Regions from separate parts of the Homo sapiens genome. Here all the other regions are linked to region 1. Evidence: promoter capture Hi-C in 16 types of primary human blood cells and fetal thymus (Javierre and others, 2016). All regions are on one chromosome and are shown on one strand. Each heading gives the region's core, a stretch centred on a gene start or on the middle of the fragment in contact. The rest is flanking DNA. Distances are from core to core; before and after follow the strand shown.

What was found. The method cuts DNA at HindIII sites, captures the fragments that hold promoters and counts their contacts. A CHiCAGO score of 5 or more calls a contact.
Region 2: the fragment with the promoter of ZNF589 here is called in contact with the fragment with the promoter of UCN2 in region 1 in 1 of 17 cell types (naive CD4 T cells); the score reaches 5.0 in naive CD4 T cells.
Region 3: a contact is called between a fragment that was not itself captured here and the fragment with the promoter of UCN2 in region 1, in 9 of 17 cell types (fetal thymus, naive CD4 T cells, naive CD8 T cells and 6 more). The highest score is 8.5, in fetal thymus.

What each region holds. Positions count from the first base shown.
Region 1 is chr3:48,560,744-48,565,030 of GRCh38, forward strand. It overlaps UCN2 (urocortin 2), which reads right to left and starts at 3,038. Exons shown (of 2, transcript NM_033199.4): 1 at 2,960-3,038; 2 at 975-2,393. The coding sequence starts at 2,381. The coding sequence ends at 2,043. It overlaps COL7A1 (collagen type VII alpha 1 chain), which reads right to left. Exons shown (of 119, transcript NM_000094.4): 118 at 4,040-4,237; 119 at 3,330-3,679. The coding sequence ends at 3,663. It also overlaps a transcript of PFKFB4 not described here. The HindIII fragment of the contact is 21,136 bases long and covers 1-4,287 here.
Region 2 is chr3:48,238,894-48,243,180 of GRCh38, forward strand. ZNF589 (zinc finger protein 589) reads left to right here and starts at 2,211. Exons shown (of 4, transcript NM_016089.3): 1 at 2,211-2,321. The coding sequence starts at 2,279. RefSeq lists enhancers at 1,366-1,660, 1,978-2,895, 2,086-2,380. The HindIII fragment of the contact is 4,371 bases long and covers 1,544-4,287 here.
Region 3 is chr3:48,270,740-48,275,026 of GRCh38, forward strand. ZNF589 (zinc finger protein 589) reads left to right here. Exons shown (of 4, transcript NM_016089.3): 4 at 1-251. Among named protein-coding and RNA genes, the nearest start is that of NME6, 28 kb to the right of the region's middle. The HindIII fragment of the contact is 2,563 bases long and covers 539-3,101 here.

The DNA.
Region 1 (4,287 bases), core at 1,788-4,287:
CCTGGACAAACATGATCCCTTGGAGGCCAGCAAAGAGCAGAGCAGGAGGGCCTGGGCAGCGCCAGCTGGCGGTCCCTCCCCCTGGGCTGGAGGAAGACACTATTTATAGTTCCCCCTTGGCCCAGCCCCCTCTCCCTTGCAGGGCGACAGTTTTCCCCCTCCTTCGGGCCACTGACAGATGAATGGCCCTCAGAGCACCCCTAAACCAGGAGAGACCCCCCAACACTCTCGCACCCCTCCAGCACCACCCTGACTTCATCCAGGTCTTTCCCTAACCCTCCACCCTCCCCACGCTGTCCCGTGCCTACCCCGCCTGCTGCTCCCCGGCCCCAGGTCGGTCAGGGAGCTGCCTCCTAACGAGCCTCTGTCCATCCTGCAACCAAACTGGCCAGGGCCACTGCCCCCTGCAGCTCCAGAGTGGGGTAACCCCGCCTAGCACTCTGAAGAGAGAGAAGCGACTCCTGCGGCTCCTGCAGCCCCGCCTCCCCAGCCCACTGTAGGCCCGCCCCCACAGGGCTGCTTACAACTGTGAGGGCAGCGCCAGTGCCCCCACTCCAGTCAGCCGGCCACGCTGTGGCCAGTACAGTCTCCCTCTCCCGCCAGAGCTGCCCATGCCACCCAGCGTCTGCCTTCATGTCCACCTAGAGTTGTCTGCACAGCCCAGAGTGCCTGCCCCCTCTGCGGGCAAGCCCGTCCACACTGCCTGGAAAGTCAGTTCTGTCTCTGGCCCAGCAATGGAGTTGGGCTGTGAAATCAGGCAAAACCTAGTCCTTCCAAACCAAGGGACCAGGTCAGTTAACCGGGGAGCTAGGGAGGAAGGCAGAGAAGCCAGGTATGACTCACCCACCATGTGTCGCGGCCTGGGTGCACACCACTGGGATTCTCGCACATCCCATCCTTCAGTCGCTTTGTGTTTATTGAGCACCTCCTGCTGCAGGACCTCCATGTCTGCTACATACACAATGCTCACAGGCTTGCTGGTCCCATCCTTCAGTCGCTTTGTGTTTATTGAGCACCTCCTGCTGCAGGACCTCCATGTCTGCTATATACACAATGCTCACAGGCTTGCTGGTGTCGCTTTGCTTTACAGATAAGGAAACCGAGGCTCGGAAAGGTGAACACCTTTGCCCAGGACAGTCCGTGCGTGAAGTGGGACAGAGTTTGGTTGGAGCTCCGGCAGCCTGAGCCCTGTCTCCTGTGAGCCCTGCATGTCCCTGGGTCGAGGCTGGGGATGCAGGGGTACGTGGGGAGGACAGGGCCTGGCCAGGAGTTGTTCTTGCTTCATGCAGGTTTGGGGGACAAGCACCCACTCCTCTCAGACCCCTCACGTACCCTTACCCTGCTCACACACACTCACAGCTGTCAGAGACTCAGCCACACACGCACATATGCGCCCATAAGACAAGGCTGCCATGGTCACAGGCTTCCTGTGTTCGGGCCTTTGTGCCTGGAGACACCCCTCACAGCCCCGTCCATCTGGGGCAGGTGCTGCCTCATGGGGCACAGAGCAAGCAAGTGACCCTCAGCCAGCATTTCTCTGTGTGGTGGCCTATGGGATGACAGACCTGTGGGCCTCAGAGGGACTGGTCGGAGGCAGTGTTGAGCTCTCGTGTTGAGGCTCCTGAAAGTAACATGATGATGACTGCATGTGGCGGTGTCCAGGTGTTCTGTGACTATGGGGCACCCAGACATAGCAAGACTCGCCACAGCAGTGACCTTACGTGGCAGCATCCAAGCTGTCCGGACATATATTAGGTCTGTGGGGCACACAGGCATGGCAAGACTCCATGTGGCAGTGACCCAACTTAGCAATGTCCAATGTCCAGGCTGTCCAGACACACTGTGACTCTGTGGGGCACTCAGATCTGATATGACCTGCATGACAGTGGCTCCATGTGGCAGTGTCCAGACACTGTATGCCCAGATGTGGCAGCGTCCAGACACTGTATGCCCAGATGTGGCAGCATCCGTCCAGCTGTGTGGCTGCCCTCCAGGTCTTCCCATCCAGGGTGGCCCTATCACTGTGACCCCCTCTCTCAGGCTCAGCAGTGGCCGACACGGGCCAGGATGCGGGCGTTGGTGGTGGCCTGCTCCCTGGCAGCCCTGGCCCGGGCTTGCTCCAGTAAGATCTGCAAGAGGCCGATGGGGACATCCAGCGATAGGACAATGCGCGAGCCAGGGTGGCGGGTGGGGCTGCAGTGGCTCTGGGCAGCCCACGGCCATGTGGGAGCAGCTGAGGGGCTCTCTGAGGCCGCAGGTCGGGGAGTGGTCTGGGGAGAATTCTGAGGGCGGAGCTGGAAGGTTGGGATAGGGGTCACTGGGACAACCAGGACTCTGCCCAACATCAGGACCATCAGCAACAGCAGAGCACACCTGGTCATCGTGAGGTCAGGCTGCAAGGAGAAAATGGGCTCAGGGCAGGGGCTCTGGTCAACTGGGGTCCATGGACAGAGACAGATGGCAAGGGCAGAGTGACAGAGCGGGGGATGGAGAGAGAGGAAGACACCGAGAAAGGGGTTAGAGAGGCCAGGCCAGGCCAGAGACAGAGAAGGGGAGACAAGAGGAGAGCCAGAATGAGACAAAGAGGCAGAAAGCAAGACAGAAAAAAAGAAACAAAGAAATCCAGAGACAGAGGGACAGCAAGAGAGGGAGATGAAGGAGATGGAGGCAGAGCAAAATGGAGACTAGAAGAAAAAGACAGACAGAAACCATCCCAGAGACAGACAGCATGATGGAAAGAAAGATTCAGACAGAAACACAGAGTCCACAGGAGGGCAGGCGGTTCTCAGCAGGAGAGCTTGCAGCTGATCCAGGAAACAGAAGGGCAGGAATCGGATCTCAGAGGCAGAAAAGCAGCCAGAGATCCCAGAGTCCCCTGGGTCCAAGCCCTCCATAAAGCCAAACCCCACATCCACTCAACCTCCAAGACCCTTCCCATCCCGACCCAACCCAGTCCTACCGCCACCAGCTGCTTCTGGGGTAAGGCAGCCTGCTGTGGCTGCCTGGGGCTGGGGCCAGGCACTACTGTCCTGTGGTCTGACCCTCTACCCCGCTTCAGGGCCCATTTATCTCCCTCAGCCCCCTGGGGTGGGAGCTGGTACATGCTTCCTGGCATGAGGCAGCCCCCCACCTATGACTCATCCCTCCCGGGGGTGTCCTTAGCCCCCACCCTATCTACTCTTTTCCGGGGACAAGTTGGGGACTGAGAATCACAAGACAGTGACCAGGACTGGGCAGAGGGACTCTGTACCCATGCAGAATAATACCAACCCCCCAAGGAAAACCTTCCCCCTTGAAACCCCCCATCTTCCCAAACAGTCACAACAGGAGCCTTTTAAAACAGCAGCTTTAATGCCCCCCAGAATCAGCACCATGTCATCACAGGCTTGGGTCAAGGGGCGGGTCAGACGCCAGTCACATCCGCTCACTGCCCACAGCCACCCCCCCACAGTGAGTCATCTGCCAGGGTGGCAGGAGCCACAATGGGGGTTTGTCCACAGGGGGGAAGGCTAGACCCACGGGACCAAGTCACTGAAATAACGGACGTGCACACGCACGCTCACGTGCACACAAGCCTCTAGCACCAAGGGGAGGGACAGTGGGGTTCTGCTGAGACCCCGACTCCTCCAGGGGATGCTGAATCTCAGCTCATTATCTGGGCCTCAGTCCTGGGCAGTACCTGGTGAGGACAGGTTGGAAACGGTCGTCAGCCATCTGACCTTCCCCGGAGACGCTCAGGCAGAGGCACCGCCAAGGGGAGGGAGCGGAGGCTACAACAGGAAGTGGGGGCTCTGACCTCAGAGGGGTCCATACTTAGGTCTTTAAAGGAGGGAACATGGAAGGGGACCCTACTGGGGGCTCCACGGCTGGGGCTCTATATTCAGCTCTTTGGTCTGGGCGTCTGCCCCAGGTCCCCTACTGCGAGGGAGCGTCTCCTCCAGGACCCTGACCTGGAACCCTGGCCCAAGGACTCCTCCCCCAGAACCCGATCCAGGCAGGCTCAGTGCCCAGTTCCCCACGGTGGGGGCTCAGCCCATACCTGTCCCCTGGCTCTGGACCACCCGGGGTGGGCAGCGGCGCTCGCAGGCCTCACGGGTCCCAAAACGGTTGGCATTCCCTCCACAGCCACCATAGACAAAAGGGTGACAGGCCTCTGTGCTGCCTGTCACAGCCCGATGGTACCAGCGCAGGGTGTAGGCAGTGCAGGAGCCCTCATCCAGTGGCAGGGAACAGGGGTCTGGGCCAATGGGGTCAAGTCAGCAGGGTTTGTGGGAATCAGAGAGGGTT
Region 2 (4,287 bases), core at 961-3,460, 320 kb before region 1:
GGGAGGCCAAGGTGGGCGGCTCACCTAGGTCAGGAGTTTGAGACCAGCCTGACCAACATGGAGAAACCCCGTCCTTACTAAAAATACAAAATTAGCCGGGCGTGGTGGCGCATGCCTGTAATTCCAGTTACTCCGGAGGCCGAGGCAGGATAATTGCTTGAACTCGGGAGGAGGAGGTTGCAGTGAGCCGAGATCGCACCATTGCACTCCAGCCTGGGCTCAAAAAAAAAAAAAAAAAAAAACCAACCTTGGCCGGGCGCGGTGGCTCACGCCTGTAATCCCAGCACTTTGGGAGGCCGAGGCGGGTGGATCATGAGGTCAGGAGATCGAGACCATCCTGGCTAACAAGGTGAAACCCCGTCTCTACTAAAAATACAAAAAATTAGCCGGGCGCGGTGGCGGGCGCCTGTAGTCCCAGCTACTGGGGAGGCTGAGGCAGGAGAATGGCGTGAACCCGGGAAGCGGAGCTTGCAGTGAGCCGAGATTGCGCCACTGCAGTCCGCAGTCCGGCCTGGGCGACAGAGCGAGACTCCGTCTCAAAAAAAAAAAAAAAAAAAAAAAAAAAACCAACCAAAAAAAAAAAGAATCCAAAAATATTAGCGGGGTATGGTGGTGCGTGCTTGTAATCCCGGCTACTCAGGAGGTTGAGGCAGGAGAATCGCTTGAACCCAGGAGAGGGAGGTTGCAGTGAGCCGAGATGGCACCACTGCACTCCAGCATGGTAGACAGAGTGAGACTCCGTGTTCTTTTCCCTAAAAAAAAAAAAAGAGTAATTGGGGAAGTTGTGCTTCAAAAGAGTAATTGGGGAAGTTGTGCGTCTTAGGGCCTCTGGAATAATGGCTGGTAATATTTAGAATTCCAGCCCTTCTCATCCTAATTTGGTGGCTGGTGGCCTTTCATTCATTTTACAAGAACAGTTTAGCCCTTGGGAAGGGCTATTATTTAAGCTATAAACTGAATTCCTTCCCAAGGCTACTTTGGCCTATGCCCAGAAGTGGACAAAGACAGTTTAGAGGTTGAAAGGAAGATGAGGTGGGTTAGATCTGATATCTTTTACTGTCATTGATAAGGCTCTGATGACTGGAGGAACACCAGGGTCCTTGGTCTCTGATAGGCTTAATAACACAGACACACGTGGAGTGGTTTTAAGGAGCGAAAAGTTTAATAGGCAAGAAAGAAGGAAGGAAGACGAAAACAGCTCCCCCATACAGAGACAGAGGGAGCGGGGATTCCAACAAAGAGAAAGCGCCGTGTGCGGAAAAGTGGCTGCTTATCTGAGGATGCTGGAGGAGGCGGTGTCTGGTTTCCATAGGGCTCAGGGGATTAGTTTGATCAGATGTGTCATTTATGTGGCAGCCAAAAACCTGGCCCTCCCACCCTAGCTTTTTAATATGCAAATGTAGGGCTCCATGAAGTTCTACACACGTGGGAATATGTGGGGGGTGGCCATGTTGCCAGGCACATGTCAGGGCAAAGAAAAGGACGGCGGGAATCGCCATGTTTGGGTGCGTCCAGTTTCTAATGGCCTGTATTTCCATATCAAAGCTTGCCATCCTGCTCTAGGAGCCCAGGCTTTCCTGCTAGACAAGAAACCTTTCTGGAGCTGCTTTAAAAGAAACAAAAACTTCCCAAGGACCCCTTTCCTTCTCTATCTGCTTAAAATAATTTCTTAATAACTCCTATAACATCATAATTTCCTTAGGTATAATTTTGCAAAGGCGGTTTCAAAAGCTCTTTGGGGTCCTCAGTAATTTTTAAGAGTGTAAAAGGATTTTAACAACAACAAGTTTGCGAACCACTGTCCTTGAGAAGCTCTCCATGGATGCGCATGAGTCTGTCCAATTGGAGTCCTGGTGTATTTCTACATTAGATACCACACAGCAGTGAACACACAATGAACAGGTCAACACGTGTCATTATAGAACTGCGCAAAAGAGCTAGTAGCAGGCATTGTAAGTGTATTTATATAATGTTTACAACCATGGAAAACAACACTATATTTTGCTTATGGGTACCTGTGGTAAGCACAACCCCAAATATTGCGGCCGAGGGGGACCTAGAAGGTCAAAGTGCGCCTCAGCATTTTCTCTCGCCCTGCACAAGCCGCATTTCGCCCCGAGAACTACGCTTCCCGGCAGGCTGCGCGCCGCGCGGTGACGCACTTCACCCAGTCCTGCTTCTTTCTTCTGGCGCCGCCAGTGGCCCGCGGTGCGCATTCTAATCCGTTTCACACACGGTGCTGCTACCTCGTTTGCTTCGTGCGTGCGTGCGCGCGCAGATGTGGGCCCCGCGGGAGCAGCTACTGGGCTGGACTGCGGAAGGTGAGTCGGGGCCGCGAGATCGCCTCCCCCATTCGGTGCTCCAGCCGCAGGCGCCGCGCAGGCGTCGGCCGTATCCACCAGGGATGCGCGTGGGGTGCGAGCTGTGTGAGGCGCTGACTACCCCTACAGCGGCTCTTACTCCCCTGGGGGGCCAGGTTCCTCCCTAGGTGTCCCGTACAGTCTCCACGGTGCTCACTCCACGACTCTTCACCGGGCATCCTGCACTTGTGCACTCCGGCAGTCATTGGCCATAAATGGCTGCTGAGCATTTGAGATGTGTGGAGTGCAACTGAAGAACAGCATTTTGTATTATTATATTATATCATATTTATTTTGAGACGGAGTCTCGCTCTGTCGCCCAGGCTGGAGTGCAGTGGCGCGATCTCCGTTCACTGCAATCTCCGTCTCCCGGGTTCAAGCAGTTCTCTGCCTCAGCCTGCCGAGCAGCTGGGATTACAGGCGCCCTCCACCACGCCTGGCTAATTTTTGTATTTTTAGTAGAGACGGGGATTTCACCATGTTGGCCAGGCTGGTTTTGAACTCCAGACCTCGTGATCCGCCCACCTCGGCCTCCCAAAGTGCTGGGATTACAGGCGTGAGCCACCGCGCCCGGAGTATATTATATTTTTATATTTTTTGAGTCGGTCCGGAGTGCAGTGGCGGGATCTAGGCTCACTGCAGCCTCCGCTTTCCCAGGCTCAAGTGATTCTCGTGCCTCAGCTTCCGGAGTAGCTGGGATTACAGGCGGCGCCTCACCACCCCGGCTGTTGTATTTTTAGTAGAGAGGGGATTTCGCCATATTTGCCAGGCTGGTCTCGAACTCCTGGCCTCAAGCAATCCACCCACCTTGGCCTCCCACAATGTTGGGATTACAGGTGTTAGCCACCCCACCCGGCCCAAAAGACTTTTTTTTTGGAGACAGAGTCTTGCTCTGTAGCCCAGGCTGGAGTGCAGTGGGCGATCTCTGCTCACTGCAACCTCTTTCTCCCAGGTTCCAGCGATTCTCCTGCCTCAGCCTACCAAGCGGCTGGAATTACAGGGACACGCCACCACGCCCGGCTATTTTTTTGTATTTTTAGTAGAGGCGGGGTTTCATCATGTTGGCCAGGCCGGTCTTGAACTCCTGACCCCAGATGATCCACCTGCCTCGGCCTCCCAAAGTGTTGGGATTACAGGTGGGAGCTACCACACCCGGCCCCAAATGACTTTGGATGTAACAACAGGAACAGTCTAGAACAGGGCTGGGCAAATTTTTTTCTGTTTGGTTTTTTTAGAAACAGGGTCTCCCTATGTTGCCCAGGCTGGTCTCCAACTCCTGGGCTCAAGGGATCCTCCCGCCTCGGTCTCCCAAAGTGCTAGGATTATAGGCGTGAGCCACTGCACCTGGTCTTGCAAACGTTTTCTTTTAAGGGCCAGGTGGTAAATGTTTCAGGCTTTGTAGGCCACACGGTCTTTGTTACGACTAGTGGTCTGCTGTTGTGTGAAAGCAGCCAAAGACCATAGGTAAACGAATGAGCATTGCCGTGTTCCAATAAAACTTTCTTTATAGACATTGAAATTTGAATTTTGGCTGAGTGCAGTGGCTCACGCCTGTAATCCCAGCACTTTGGGAGGCCAAGGCAGGAGGATCTCTTGAGCCCAGGAGTTCAAGACCAGCCTGGTCAACATGGCAACACCCCATCTCTACTTTAAAAATAAAATAAAATAAAATAAGCTGGGTGTGGTGCCGTACACCTGTAATCCCAGCTACTCTGAGGCTGAGGCGCAAGAATTGCTTGAACCTTGGAGGCAGAGGTTTCAGTGAGCCGAGATCGCATGACTGCACTCCAGCTTGGGTAACAGAATGAGACTCTAAAAAAAAAAAAGGAAATTTGAATTTCATATATAATTTTCATTATTATGAAATATTCTGTTTCTGATTTTTTTTTCAGCCAATTAAAAATGTAAAAACTGGCCCAGCATGGTG
Region 3 (4,287 bases), core at 570-3,069, 290 kb before region 1:
AAGGACTTGGAGAGAGAGAAGGAATGGCTGGTCCAGAGGCTTTTGTCCACTCCCTCTCACTGGAAGTGGTTGATCTCCAGGGAATCCCCAAGGTTAGCCTGCTTAGGGGAAGGGCTAGGGGTACCTGGAATGTAGGATCTCCCCCATGCCTGGCCTACCACCCTAATGTGTCTGGAATTGGTGGGTTCTTGGTCTTGCTGACTTCAAGAATGAAGCCGTGGACCCTCACGGTGAGTGTTACAATTCTTAAACATGGTGTGTCTGGAGTTTGTTCCTTCTGATGTTCGGACGTGTCCAGAGTTTCTAACTTCTGGTGGGTTTGTGGTCTCGCTTAGGAGTGAAGCTGCAGACCTTAGCAGTGTTACGGCTCTTAAAGGCAGCGCATCTGGAGTTGTTAGTTCCTTCCGGTGGGTTCGTGGTCTTGCTGGTTTCAGGAGTGAAGCTGCGGACCTTTGCGGTTAGTGTTACAGCTCTTAAAGGCGGCGCGGACCCAAAGAGTGACCAGCAGGAAGATTTATTGTGAAGAGTGAAAAAACAAAGCTTCCACAGCATGGAAGGGGACCTGAGTGGCTTGCCGCTGCTGGCTCGGGTAGCCTGCTTTTATCCCCTTATCCGGCCCCACCCACATCCTGCTGATTGGTCCATTTTACAGAGAGCATATTGGTCCGTTTTGACAGGGTGCTGATTGGTGCATTTACAATCCCTGAGCTAGACACAGAGTGCTGATTGGTGCATTTACAAGCCTCTAGCTAGACAAAAATTTTCCAAGTCCCCACTAGATTAGCTAGACACGCGTTTACAAACCTTTAGCTAGACACAGTGCTGATTGGTGCGTTTACAATCCTTTAGCTAGACACAAGTTCTCCAAGTCCCCGCTAGATTAGCTAGACACAGAGCACTGATTGGTGCGTTTACAAACCTTGAGCTAGACACAGAGTGCTGATTGGTGCATTTACAATCCTCTAGCTAGACATAAAAGTTTTCCAAGTCCCCACCAGGTTAGTTAGATACAGAGTGCTGATTGGTGCATCCACAAACCCCGAGCTAGACAGAGAGTGCTGCTTGGTGCATATACAATCCTCCAGCTAGACAAAAGTTCTCCAAGACCCCACCCAACTCAGGAGCCCAGCTGACTTCCCCTAGTGGATCCCGCACTGGGGCTGTGGGTGGAGCTGCCTGCTAGTCCTGTGCCTCACACCTGCACACCTCAGCCCTTGGGCGGTCGATGGGACGGGCAGCGCCTGTCGGGGAGTCTCGGGCTGCATGCGAGCCCATGGCGGTCGGGGGTGGCTTGGGCATGGCAGGCCGCAGGTCCCAAGCCCTGCCTCATGGGGAGGCGGCTGAGGCCCGGTGAGAATTCAAGTGCGGCGTGGGCAGGCTGTCAGTGCTGGGGGACCCGGTGCACCCTCTGCAGCTGCTGGCCCGGGTGCTAAGCCCCTTAATGCCTGGGGCCTGTGGTGCCGGCCGGCCGCTCCGAGTGTGGGGGCCCCCGAGCCTGCGCCCACCCGGAACTCATGCTGGCCTGCGAGCCCCATGCGCAGCCCTGGTTCCCACCTGCGCCTCTCCCTCCACACCTCTCTGCCAGCCAAGGGAGCTGGCTCCGGCCTCGACCAACCCAGAGAGGGGCTCCCACAGTGCAGCGGCTGGCTAAAGGGCTCCTCAAGCGTGGCCAGAGCGGACGCTGAGGCCGGGGAGGCGCTGAGAGTGAGCGAGGGCTGCTAACACGTTGTCACCTCTCACTATTGCTGCCCCTTTCCCATGGCCTGAGCTAAAAGCCATAGAAAGTGTGTGTATGTGTGTGTGTTTAGGGGTTGCTGGGCAGGGGAAGGGTGGGACACCATCATTCCACAAGACCTCGAAGTTACTCCTCCCATAGAAAAATGAAAGTGGAAAAATTAGTGATCATACATCTACTTTAAACATGAGAGGGAGAAAAAAGTGTTCATTTTCTATTAAAATCCATGTAGGCACTGTCGAGATACCACACAGATCTGGTCCGGCAAGAGGACTGTCAGGTCCAGGCAGTCATAGGAAGAGATTGTAAGCTGCAGTAAATCTGAGTCTCTCTTCAAAGGGTTTAGCCTGCTAACTTCCTTATCCTTGTTCTCAAATTCAACTTTCTTGTTCTTCCTTACCCCTAGTTACTGTAAACAGCCTACCCCATTCTCGTCAGCTTTAATCAATAATTCACATCTGTTCCCTTGGTTACCTGTACCCATTGTTCCCCCGAAACTGCACGCCTCACACTCCACCTCTGTAACTCATGTCCCCCTCCCCTTCTATAGTTAGGAAAATATGTACAAGTGGCCAATTGGGTCAGCTCAGATTGTGCAGTCTGACCCCAGCCCATGGGGGGAGTGACACAGAGATAGGGACTGTGTTAAGGATAAAAATCCCCTGGTCTCCTTTGTTCTCTGTGCTCTTGTGATCTTGATTGACACAAGTGGCACCGTTCCGCAGAAGTAAATTACCTTGCTGAGAGAAATTAAACTTTTGCCTGAGTGCTGGTTTTACTTCATGGCACCGAGCATTTCATCCTAGAGCATTTTATATCCAACAATTCTGGGGGCTCGTCTGGGATTCCCATTCTCCTTCGGGAAGGGGTCTTCAGTCACCCTACCCAGGGGAGACACTTCCCACTGCCCTGTTGCGGTGGCCCTCAGGGATGGGAGATCGAGACCCACCTGTTGTGACGAATAAACCTGGACTCTCAGCAACGCGGGGAAGAGAGACTTGCAATACTGCGGCGACCAGGTAAACTGCACAGACCAAGGTAGAAAACGTCGCAGGGGCAACAAATTACTTCTTTAGTGGTTTTGCGGGGGTCGGGGCATTCTGGAGGTTGAAAGTGCATGAATGGTAACAAGCACTACTGCTGTGCGGAGTGAGACCAATCTGCAGTTCCGTGGTCATCTCATATGGCTTAGGGCGGCCCTTTGGGGGTCCCGTCAGGGGTTTATACTGACCCCCCATGAATGCTAAAAGTGACCTGGAACATTCCCTCAAGGGAAGCGGCCAGAGCGTGAAGGTTGCAGTGAAAGAAGGGTGCAAGGAATCTCCAGCAGGTGGAGCTAAAGGATAGGCGAATTGTGCCTTAGCAAAGCTTCCAGTGAAGGACAGGCAAGAGACCCCTAATACGAGGGGTTGAGCCAGAAGGAACCCCCCAAATAGGCAGGAGATCCCTAATATGAGGGGTTGAGCCACAGAAAGCCCCCACTAGGCAAGAGATTCCTAATACGAGGGATTGAGCCTAGCCAGGACCCAGTATGGTAAATAATACAAGCAAAAAAGATAAAGTTAGCAACAAAGATATACCACTGATAGTCCCCAAGGTCTCAAAGATATACCACCTGATAGCCCCTTAGGTCTCAGGCTAAAAGGTTGGAAAGATAACAAGAGAACTAAACATAAGACAAAGGAACAAATGATAAAATATTGCTGTTCTATTTGGTCTCAAAGACCTATCCTCAGTCCCTCAATCTTCTGGCCAAAGTTTGGGTCGACTAAGGATATACTATATCAACTTTTAATTCAACATGTAAGTAATAAAAGCCCAGTTTCTCAAGAAGAACTGAACTATGCTCTTTGTTGGAAGCAAAGACCTGTCCTCCCTTTTCCCTTATGCACCTGCCCCTACTGTAGAACCAGTGAGAGAAGGGGGGATCCTGGCAAAGAGAACAGCACATGGGATCCCCTAGACCATCCTCCACCTAATACCCCTAGTCCCCCTCCTAATACACCCAACCCTTCCCCTCAGGCCCAGCCTAAGTCCCCCTCCCCGGAAAAACTCCAAGCTCCTAATTCACCAGGTCGCTTTTGCTGGGCTAGTAACATCAAGGATCCACCGCAACATGTCTGCATCGTCCCTCCCATAGTACACCCCAGCGGCAGGCAAAGCCCATGCTCCTGCCCCCCCGCTGGTCCAACATCCCAGCACCATATTGACGGCGGCTCTGCAAGACCCATGGGCCAGGCCCCAGCCTATGCCCCAAGCAGACTACATTATGGGATATCTGCCTTACTTTTGCCAAGGCCAAGTAATATGGGGCCTCAGCCGCAGCTCCAAGCACCTAGGCATCCCTGCGGCTAAGTCTCCTGAGCAAGTGGTAAATAATCTTTCAGCTGATATATCCGCTAGCATTTATTGTGGTCAGGCCAGTGTTAAAAGTAAAAATATCCACCAGAAAAGAACTTTGATTCTTTAAAGTCGCTTTTTTGTTGTTGTTGTTGTTTGAGACGGAGTCTCACTCTGTCGCCCAGGCTGGAGTGCAGTGGCACCATCTCGGC